Regions from separate parts of the Homo sapiens genome. Here region 1 is linked to region 2. Evidence: promoter capture Hi-C in 16 types of primary human blood cells and fetal thymus (Javierre and others, 2016). All regions are on one chromosome and are shown on one strand. Each heading gives the region's core, a stretch centred on a gene start or on the middle of the fragment in contact. The rest is flanking DNA. Distances are from core to core; before and after follow the strand shown. Region 1 overlaps EPG5 (ectopic P-granules 5 autophagy tethering factor). Region 2 holds the start of SLC14A1 (solute carrier family 14 member 1 (Kidd blood group)).

What was found. The method cuts DNA at HindIII sites, captures the fragments that hold promoters and counts their contacts. A CHiCAGO score of 5 or more calls a contact.
Region 1: a fragment that was not itself captured here is called in contact with the fragment with the promoter of SLC14A1 in region 2 in 4 of 17 cell types (endothelial precursors, M0 macrophages, M2 macrophages and 1 more); the score reaches 6.4 in endothelial precursors.

What each region holds. Positions count from the first base shown.
Region 1 is chr18:45,878,884-45,881,997 of GRCh38, reverse strand. EPG5 (ectopic P-granules 5 autophagy tethering factor) reads left to right here. Exons shown (of 44, transcript NM_020964.3): 32 at 1,775-1,923; 33 at 2,784-2,985. Among named protein-coding and RNA genes, the nearest start is that of SIGLEC15, 55 kb to the right of the region's middle. The HindIII fragment of the contact is 2,136 bases long and covers 692-2,827 here.
Region 2 is chr18:45,722,299-45,728,703 of GRCh38, reverse strand. It overlaps SLC14A1 (solute carrier family 14 member 1 (Kidd blood group)), which reads right to left and starts at 4,523. Exons shown (of 10, transcript NM_015865.7): 1 at 4,431-4,523; 2 at 3,691-3,754. The region is part of intron 6 of LOC105372093 (a long non-coding RNA gene); the gene reads left to right. It overlaps LOC105372092 (a long non-coding RNA gene), which reads right to left. Exons shown (of 4, transcript XR_935422.3): 4 at 5,669-5,766. The HindIII fragment of the contact is 29,148 bases long and covers 1,319-6,405 here.

The DNA.
Region 1 (3,114 bases), core at 510-3,009, 160 kb before region 2:
TTGACTTTTCAGCTGTCTTGAAGTGGGGTGGGAAAGGACTGGCTTACTCTGCAGACGACAGATCTGGCAAAGCAAGGAGGTTGTGCCTTATGATATGTTTAATATGACAGTTTGTTTCTCTGTAGTTCCAAACATTTTGGGAGTTTTTCCTTTCTAAGTCTTTTACTCTTGTTTTTTGCAAATTAATTTTATCCATATGTAATGATAGACTTTATTTATATTTACCAAGGGAAAGAGCAGCATTACAATCTCCACATTCCTGCCACTTCTGTTCCCCCTTCTTACAATTTTCTATAGCAATTTTAGAGTTTAGAGGAGAAATAAATAGGGTAGGCTTTTTTATTTTTGGAGTTTCGCTAGGCAGTAATTTTATTAAAATTTGATAAATGAGATAGTATTTACTTTTTAATGCAAACTTCATACGGTTTATAGATATAATAGCAAATGAAATTTTGCTTTATACCAAATTTTTGTGTTACATCATAGAAATAGTTTAATGGATAAGTTAATGATCCAGTGTATCGGGTTGCCCAAAGGACCTTGAAATGTGCAGCCTCTCATTTTGAAAGCACTTCAAGCTTTAATTGTTTCCCACAGAGGCAGGTTGCAGGGTGGGTGGAGAATGGTGGAAGGGAAATACATTTGTACAAATGCCAATGAATATGTGCATAGCTAATTTTTTCTCTAAGCTTTTAAAGTTTCAAATAGTGTGTGTTGTGGATTTTTCCCTGAAATCTTTTAAAGAGATTGTAAACCATTTATATTAGACCACTATTGACTGGAATTTAGCTAGAAATTTGTTCTTACCAAGAAAAGTAATTCAGACTTAAGAATAACAATATGATACCTCTCAGATGTCATGAGCTTCAGCCTCCTGGTTTCTTTCTCCTCCTTGGCTACCATGTTGATGTTCCCTTGGGAGCATCCTTTGCTCTTCTACTGCATTCATTCCCTCTGGGTGAGCCCGTTGTTTTCCCTGATGTCACTGCCACCTTCTAGGCATGTGTGATTTCCAGTGATAGCTTAATTTTGGGGCGCTGTCCTAAGATCCAGACCCCAGTGGCCATTGGACACAGACTGGCACTGTCCCCAGGTACCTCACACTGGACATATTGTAACTGGCCTCACCATCGTTCTCCTCAGACCTGCTCCATGAACCTGTTATTTTAGTTGATTCTCATGTTCGCTCTGGGTGGAAAGTACTTTAGGAGATATTATTCCTGTCCTGTGGGATGGGAAGTTATTAAGTAGCAGAGTTGGGACTAGTTCAGAATATGGGCTGCTGGACTTGTCCAGCGTTTCCATGCTGCCTCTGGGTCTTGGTTTCGGGGAATTGGGGGGCCGGTAGGAGACTCCTTCTGGAGAGCCCAGGCCCTGAGTTGCCTTCATCATGTGGTTTCCGTTGTCCTGTGACTGTTGTTTCTGTCACACTCATAGATAGCTGTGGTCCCCCAGCCAGGAGAGGCACTGCCACCATTCCCCAGTCAGGGTCGGAGGGTCAGGTCTCCCACCCCTCTGAGTGTAGCTCCACCAGCTTCAGCAGCGCTCACTCCCAGCAGGGTTACCAGGAACCAGGAAAACCAAATGTGCAGGTGGCCAGTTCTTCTCTTAGGTTCTCTTTACTTGGGCCTCCTCACCCCAGATATCCCTGTGAGTTTGTTTTGGATTTTGGCTTTATTTTTATTCCTTTATAAGGTGCTCATATTCTTTGTTACAAGTTAAAATATTCCTTTCGGGAAAGCCACTGACTTGCTCTTCCTGTCCCTGCTGGCAGGCTCCGCGGAGCAGCTTCTGAGCCCCGAGTGTTGGAAGGCCACTCTGAGAGCCCTGGGCTGCTGCGCCCCCAGCTGCCAGCAGGGGGCAGCGTCCACCGAGGGCGCCGTGCTTCCCAGCTCTTCTGATGCTCTCTTGTCAGACAAGCAGGTGTGTAGCCTTTGGTCTCTGACGTGTTTGTGCATTTCTTTTTATTTCCCTTGCTATTCATTTTTTAAGCAGTTGGAAAACTTGTGCATTATCTTTAAGAGCCATGTGTTTTTCTTTGTGTTAAGTGCTTTGGTTCCCTCGTGTCCCCTTTTTCCAGATGGCTCACCCCATTCCCCTGAGTCTAATTCTTGCCCATGTATCCAAGACAAGGGCAGGCACTCCCCTGTAGATCTTTCCTGCCCACCCTAGCCCATCGGACTCCACCCTGAGACCTCTGGTCGGGTTTCTATGATGCAGTGTCCCATGGAGCTCTGGGTTTTATCCTTTCTGTTTGATATGCATTTGCATGAGAATTTATTTGAAATAATGGTTCCACTGATTTAGAAAAGGTTTGAAACCCACTGATGGCCTGGCGCGGTGGCTCATGCCTGTAACCCCAGCACTTTGGGAGGCCAAGGTGGGCGGATCACTTGAGGTCAGGGATTCGAGACCAGCCTGGGCAACATGGTGAAACCCTGTCTCTACTAAAGAATACAAAAATGAGCTGGGCATGGTGGTGCACGCCTGTAGTCCCAGCTACTCAGGAGGCTGAGGTAGGAGAATCGCTTGAACCCAGGAAGCGGAGGTTGCGATGAGCCAAGATCGTGCCACTGCACTCCAGCCTAGGCGACAGAGCAAGACTCTACCTCAAAACAAAAACAAAAACAAAAAACCATTGATTTATTTCTCATATGCTTTATATTTTTGCCACTCTCTTATAAAGTCAAAGACCTACTATATACACCCCCATCACAGTGTATCATAACACTTTACTAAAATACATATTTAGTAAGCATTTTTTGACTAGTTGTCTCTTCCAGGTAATGGAGACTATACAGTGGCTTTCAGACTTTTTTTATAAGCTTCGGTTATCCAAGATGGACTTTAAAAGCTTTGGTTTATTCTCAAAATGGAGTCCTTATATGGCTGATGTGAAGACATTCTTGGGCTACCTTGTGAAAAGGCTGATTGACTTAGAAATGACCTGTTTGGCCCAAGACCCAACTGCCAGCAGGAAAACAGGTAATATACTTCTCATGCGATGTGGAGCTAGGTGTTTGGACTTTCCATTAAGAGAGATTTAAATAGGCACATTAAGAGATTTATATTGAGTGTCAAGGAGAGAAAGTAGAAATATATAGAACAGGCATG
Region 2 (6,405 bases), core at 3,274-5,773:
TGAGTTGGCTCCATAGTTAAAGATAAAAAACCGTATGAATAATTAAGCACTTATGAAAAAGTACTTCTATTTCATAATCTAAGTGGTGGCTGTCATTTATTTTCAGATTATCTCCCTCTTCAAATTTCATAGCTGAACATATTGCTTGATAAGCCCATGCCTCTGCTGTAGTGACCCATTTTCAAAGCCATACCAACTTATGGGAGGCATCAGGCTTCAGCTCAGGCAAGGACAAGCAGCCCAAAGAGATAAATGCCTTGAGTTTCTGGAACTGAATCTATAAAACCCTAAGGTGGCAGCATCAAATGAAAACACTCAAGTGGCATTTTCCATCAACTCCCAAAGCAGGAACATGGACCATTTCAGAATAAACAAATTCATGTTCTCAAAATTCCCAGCATATATTTATTTATTTTAGAGGGCTTGAAATATCCCATCACCTCAGAGATTTTGGAGATACAGATTCGAAACCTGATAATAGAACTGGCCAGACGTGATTGAGAGCCTGAGCGGCCCGAGTCTCCTGTTGAGCCACCCAAAGTTAAGTAAAGATTAAACTAGTTTTCTCCAAATCGACAGCCCAACATATAGAAGACTTATTGCCATTTGTGAATCTAATTTCAACATAATTGGGATGGGTTGTAGGGCTAGGATGTCCTGCAGAGAGGGGTCTTCTCATGACCTGGGCAGACAGTTGCTGCTATTTTAGAGTCCCCAGGAACCATTTATTCTGAACAGCTGAACCCTTCTAGAGCCCCTGGGAGACCTGACTCCTTGCTCCAGAAGTCAGGCATGAGAACCACTTAGGAGAAATACGAAACTTACAGTTGTAGTTGGCCTAGAATTTTGCCATGCTAAAATATTTGCATTTCTTAGGGAACTTTAAGAGTCCTTACATCCTAACTGGGAAGACAAGGCAAGGCTATGCAGCCAGGACCTTCTGCTAATGTTCAAACATCTTAGCCCCAGTGAAGCAGGCCATTAATTTCAACTAAGAAGAAGGGACAATAAGTAAAAGGCACTCTAATAAAATAGACACAGGGTAAACGTAAAACCCCAGGTGACTTATCCCCAGCTTTTCCATGGCTGTCAAAACTTCTCAGCTCAATGGTCTAGCCTCTAAACCAAGGTGAGCGCCATGGGGCTTTTTGGACCAAGATCCCTGTGCCTTTGGCTTAGCTCACAGCCAACCCCCACTTCCCAGGCTCTGCCCGGAAAAGATACACCAGAGTTTGGAGCAGGCTCCCAGGTTCCCCGAGCCAGAGGCTGCACGAAGGAAGCATACCTGTTCCTGCGACCCATCTGCCAGGGCCAAGCTTAGCCGGGCGATGCCTCTGCGCGCTGCGTCACCAGCTTTAGTTCCAAAAGGGTCCTTCCAAACAGGACCATGACGGGCGTCACCAGCGCCGCCAATCAAAGACCGTCCATTCATCCTTACTTTTTCTCAATACATGACAAAGGGCAAAAATATGTGAATCAGCATGACGTGTGCCCTAGCTCTAATGACCACGCAAAAGGCAAGCTGAGGGGGGCTGGAGCGCGCCCACTGGGTTCCTGGTGAGGGAAGATGTGGCCCCACATGGGAGACCGCTAATGAAGAAGGAGGACTTTGCCTTCACCAAAGAGCTCTCAGTGGGCAGAAAGACAGCAGCTGACTATGGAAATTTGATGTTCATTTACTTTGCTTAAAAAAAAAATAACGGGAAGCCATCCTACACAGGGACCAATGCCCAGATTTTGTTCTGCTGCGTGTCTCTGCTGTTGGATCTGAGGTTGCTTCTTCCAGAGGGGGAGGAGGGGGTTCATGTTCTGACACGTTTGGGGGCAGATTGTGAGGGCTGCATCTTGGGGACCAACACCAAAGCAACAGGTTGCCCCACAGCAGTTTCCCTTGGCCTTGTTTATGAAATGTGAGAAGAAGGATGCATGATGTGGGCTCTGTTTTCTGTAATAAGATACTAGCCACGCTTTGTAAGCATTCACAAGCTGCCTTTAAGAGACTCCTAAATGGTATTTTTTTTTCCTGTGCCACCACATCCAGCTGTGTTTATTTTAATTTATTTTATTTTTTTTTAGAGACAAAGTCTCATTGTATTGTCCAGGCTGGTTTTGAATTCCTGGCCTCAAGTGATCCTCCCACCTTAGCCTCCCAAAACACTGGGATTACAGGCATAAGTCATCATGCCAGGCCAAGAACTCTTAAATTTTGAACATCACTTTGTTAATAATAAACAGTTTTTAGTTGAATTCCACAAATGTGGCAGCTTTTTATAAATTTTCTTTTTCCTTTTTAAAACTTCCATTGCATCCAAGAATATCACTCTTTTACCAGAAGTTCCAGTTGTGTGTGTGGTATTTCTCTTTTTCTCCCCCTGTTGTTTATTCTGTTTTTACTTTCTTCTTCTGGCTTGGCCTAAAACCTGAAAACCTACCCTTTACCAGAATGACTCAGAAAAATCCACAATTTTAGGAAACACTTCTGACATGTCTCAGGTAAAAATTGTGTGTGTGCATGCATGTGTGTATATTTACCTATAGTAAACTAGCTGGCTAGTTCTGTACCACACTGATGTGCCTGCATGTTGCATTATGAATATTTTTATTTGATAAAGAACAAATGGTTAAGAAACCCAGTGGTAGGGCTCTCATGTTATATAAAGCTAAAAACAAAGAAATAAGAAACAATGAAGAATGAAAAAAGAGACAAGCAGGGGTTGTCACATTTTCTCAGTGTAGACAGCGTCTCCTTCTGCCCCTGCCTGGCACCGGCCTTTCCTCTACCACCAAAATCACACACCTTGGAGAACCCCTTCCTTGAGCTCAACATCAATATTTTCCTAGAACCAAGAGAAATTTGAGAGCTAGGTAGGATTTTAGAGACCACGTAGTTCAAGCCTTCATTTTATAGAAGAGAAAACCAAGGATCAGAGTGGGCATCATCCAGATTCACTCAGTACGTGGCAGGCAGACTGGGTCTTATGGAATAGGTCAGCTCTGGTGGTTCTTAATTTTTCAGTCTTGGGCCAGGCACATTAATGCCACCCAAGGTTCGGTTCAAGTCAACAAACAAGTGAAGCAGCAGTTTCTGTGTGCTGGAGTATGCAGAGAGGGCTAGGACTTAGCGATGCGGTGGGCACAGACTATCTTCACGGTCACTTTGAACTAATCTTGGGGTGGGGGTTGAACAACCACAAAGAAAGAGCTCTGCTATCCCCAGTTTCACCCTATGCCCTTGCCAGAAGCAGTTACTCTCTGACAAACAAATGTCTCCCTGTGCCTCAAAGCTGACACATCTACAGCAAGGCTTATGTGTGCTGAAGTTAACATCCCAAGAATATCCTGGAAGCTGCACCTGAAGAGCTTTCCAGCAGAAGTCAAAAAGCACTTTTCATACCCCAGATCACTAGTAAAATGAAGCAGTGCTTAGCATTTTAATACAAGGCAATATCAAGATTTCAGGTCAACTAATATCCTCTATTTTATTACACGAAATAAAATATATTCTATTGCCAGCATGTATTAGAAATTTGTGCAATTGGAGAGACCTGAAGTCTTCAATTTTCCATGCTTCAGCTATTACTTTTAAAAATAATATGAAGTGTTGGATATGGATATAGAAGAAAGCATTTAAACACTCATGGTCTAGCATAATAAAGAGACTTTCAGCATTGACACTTATTTGGTACTTACTATAATCTTTATTTTAGGTAGTTTTTGATTTTAAGTAGCAGGAGATGCCCAGTTTTCTTTAAAGCTGTAATTGGAAACAAAGAAAATGCTGTCAGATATTCCTGTGTCCTGGTTAAAACACTTCCCTCCTTGGAAAACACTACTCCCAGAAGTCTTGATTCCAGACTCCAGAGAGTGCAGCTGCAAGGAAGCTGCCAAATTCGTGGCTTCAGTTGTGACTGACTTGTTCTCCCGATGGGTGCACAAGAACATTCCCTTCAGCATGACAGCACACACAGAGGAGTCCATAAATCCATCACTGGAAAGGGCCATTCCCAGTGGCCCACTTTTTTCTTTTGAGTCTTGTAGACACTCGCCTCGAACTTATTTCAAGAACACAGCCCAAATTATTATTTCAAGAACACAACCTGAAACTCCTAATAGTGTTGATTAACCCAGAATCATTGAGCACATTGGGTGGACACCTCCCTGCAAACCCTCTTCCACATCAGCTCAGGTGCTGCATGCACCTTGCTTCAGAAATCACGAATAAAGGCATGCCTTTGAGCTTCCAGGAAGAAGCCTGTGGCTTTGGTAAATTGCTTTCTAGTCTACCAGAACTCTGATTTTGCTACTTCTGATCAATTCCGGTGATATAAAACATTTTCTTCATTAAGAAAAAGAGCAAAACTTAGAACTGTGAAGACAAGCCCCAAATGATGAATAGTTGGAAATGAATAGAAATAAGGATGAGTACTTACACCACTCTAGCTGGCTTCCTGGCAGCAGAAGGCAGTGGCTGATAAAGATTTGCCCACCTCCACGACAAGGGAGAGTGCTTCTCAGGAGATGGTGCTGGAGGGAGGCACCTAACAGTTATATACTCAGAGCCCCACTCTGCTCTGTGTGTTTGTGGGCTCGGCTTTCTCCTCCCACTTCAGGCATCAATGCCAAAGCAACACCAAGGAACTGGTCCCCTGGCTTCAGTACCCGATGTCTCTCTCTCTGTTCTTGACAGAGTACCAACTGCTTTGCCACAGTTTCCACAGCATTCCAAGGTCTTTGACCAGCAATAATCCTACCAAAATGCATCTTTTTCTTCTCCTGTTTCCTCTGGCCCCTACTCATATTTTTGGAAAGATTTACAACTGAAAAGGATCAACACGGTGTCAAACTAAAAACCATGGGGCAGGTTGCTGCTGTGTGGACTCGGAAGCTAAGCGACTGCTCCTGGGGTGAAATTTTCTTAGACTTGGCACAACTTCTACACAGATGTAAGACTCCAGCAAGGGCCTGAGGGGCTGTTGGGAGGGTGGGGAAGATAAGGTACATGCAAGTTGTTTTCTGAAGGCCAGCTGCCTTTTTCCCAGTGAGGAGAAAACAAAAATATCAGTGTTTCCCTGGAATGTCTGTCTTCCCAGGTGAGAATTCTTGGACATACTCTGCTGCCTCTTTAAAAGTCAGGAAGCAAACATTCTATAGCAGGGAAATCTAAAACTGAATTAAAATATCTCCTCCTTCCCCCTTCTTTTTAAATTTCAATTTTGTGGCTTGTTCTGTTATGGCAAAAATCTAACTCAAATCTACTTTTATGAGTGCAGAATTTTAAAAAAATATATGTGTATATATGTATATGTGTGTATATATGTAACATATATACATCTATATTACATACATACATGTATATATGTAGATATATACATATAATAAATATACATATATACATATATTACATATGTGTAGATATATATGTGTGTATATATGTAATATATATACATATATACATATACTTTTAAATATATATATAATATATATATGTAATCCCACAGCCAGCCATGCAGATGTCATAGGTCTTTTATCTGGGTCTCCTGCCTGCTTGGATGTGCAGATAGTACTTATCAGCCTTCAGCTAGGTGGCCCATGGCTGGGAGCTCTCTGGCTCCACCCGCTGGACACCCGCCAGACCACAGGGTTCTTGCCGGCTTGGGACATCCTTCCTCCAAGTGCCTCCCGAGCAGCTGAGGTAGGGTGTGTATAGGTCTAGGTTCATAATAAGAGTTTCCAGGTTCAGGCAAATCTCCTTCCAACATTTTTTCCCTGGTAAAATAAGGAGAAAATAAGCTCCTCGGGTTTCCCTGAAGGAGAAAAATGAATCTTCAGGAGACAGTGTGAGTGGCCTGCTTTGGGAATGAAAGGAATCATACTAGTGTCTCCATGACTTCCTTATGCAAATGGACCACTGTCCCTGATAGAAATAATCATGCTAATGATGGTAATGAGAATAATAACTGCCACAAATGGTAGAGCATTTGCAAAATTCCTATATTATACTATTGTCCCCATTTTGTAGATGAGCAATCTGAGGCTCAGAGTTTAAATAACTTGCTCAAAGTCTGACTCAAAGTTTGTACTTTTAGCCACTCCAGTGCTGTCCAATATTTCCAACTTCTGCCTGTATGTTTGCTTTTCATTAATTCCTTCACTCAACTTGGCCATGATGCATATTTATGGACCTCATCCTGAAGCTGCCTCCACATGACACCCATGGAGCCTTCTGCCTCAGTCGCACTGGTCAGGGCTGAAGGTGTGTAGTGAATCTCAGACCTCCTTGGAAAAACCACCTCTTTCTGTACCCACCCTCCCTCCCTGGCCTTTCTCCTGGTCCCTGTAAAGCCACACCTTAAGTGGGGGGCCACAAATTACAGCCTTGCCATATTGTATGCACAAGGCAGCACA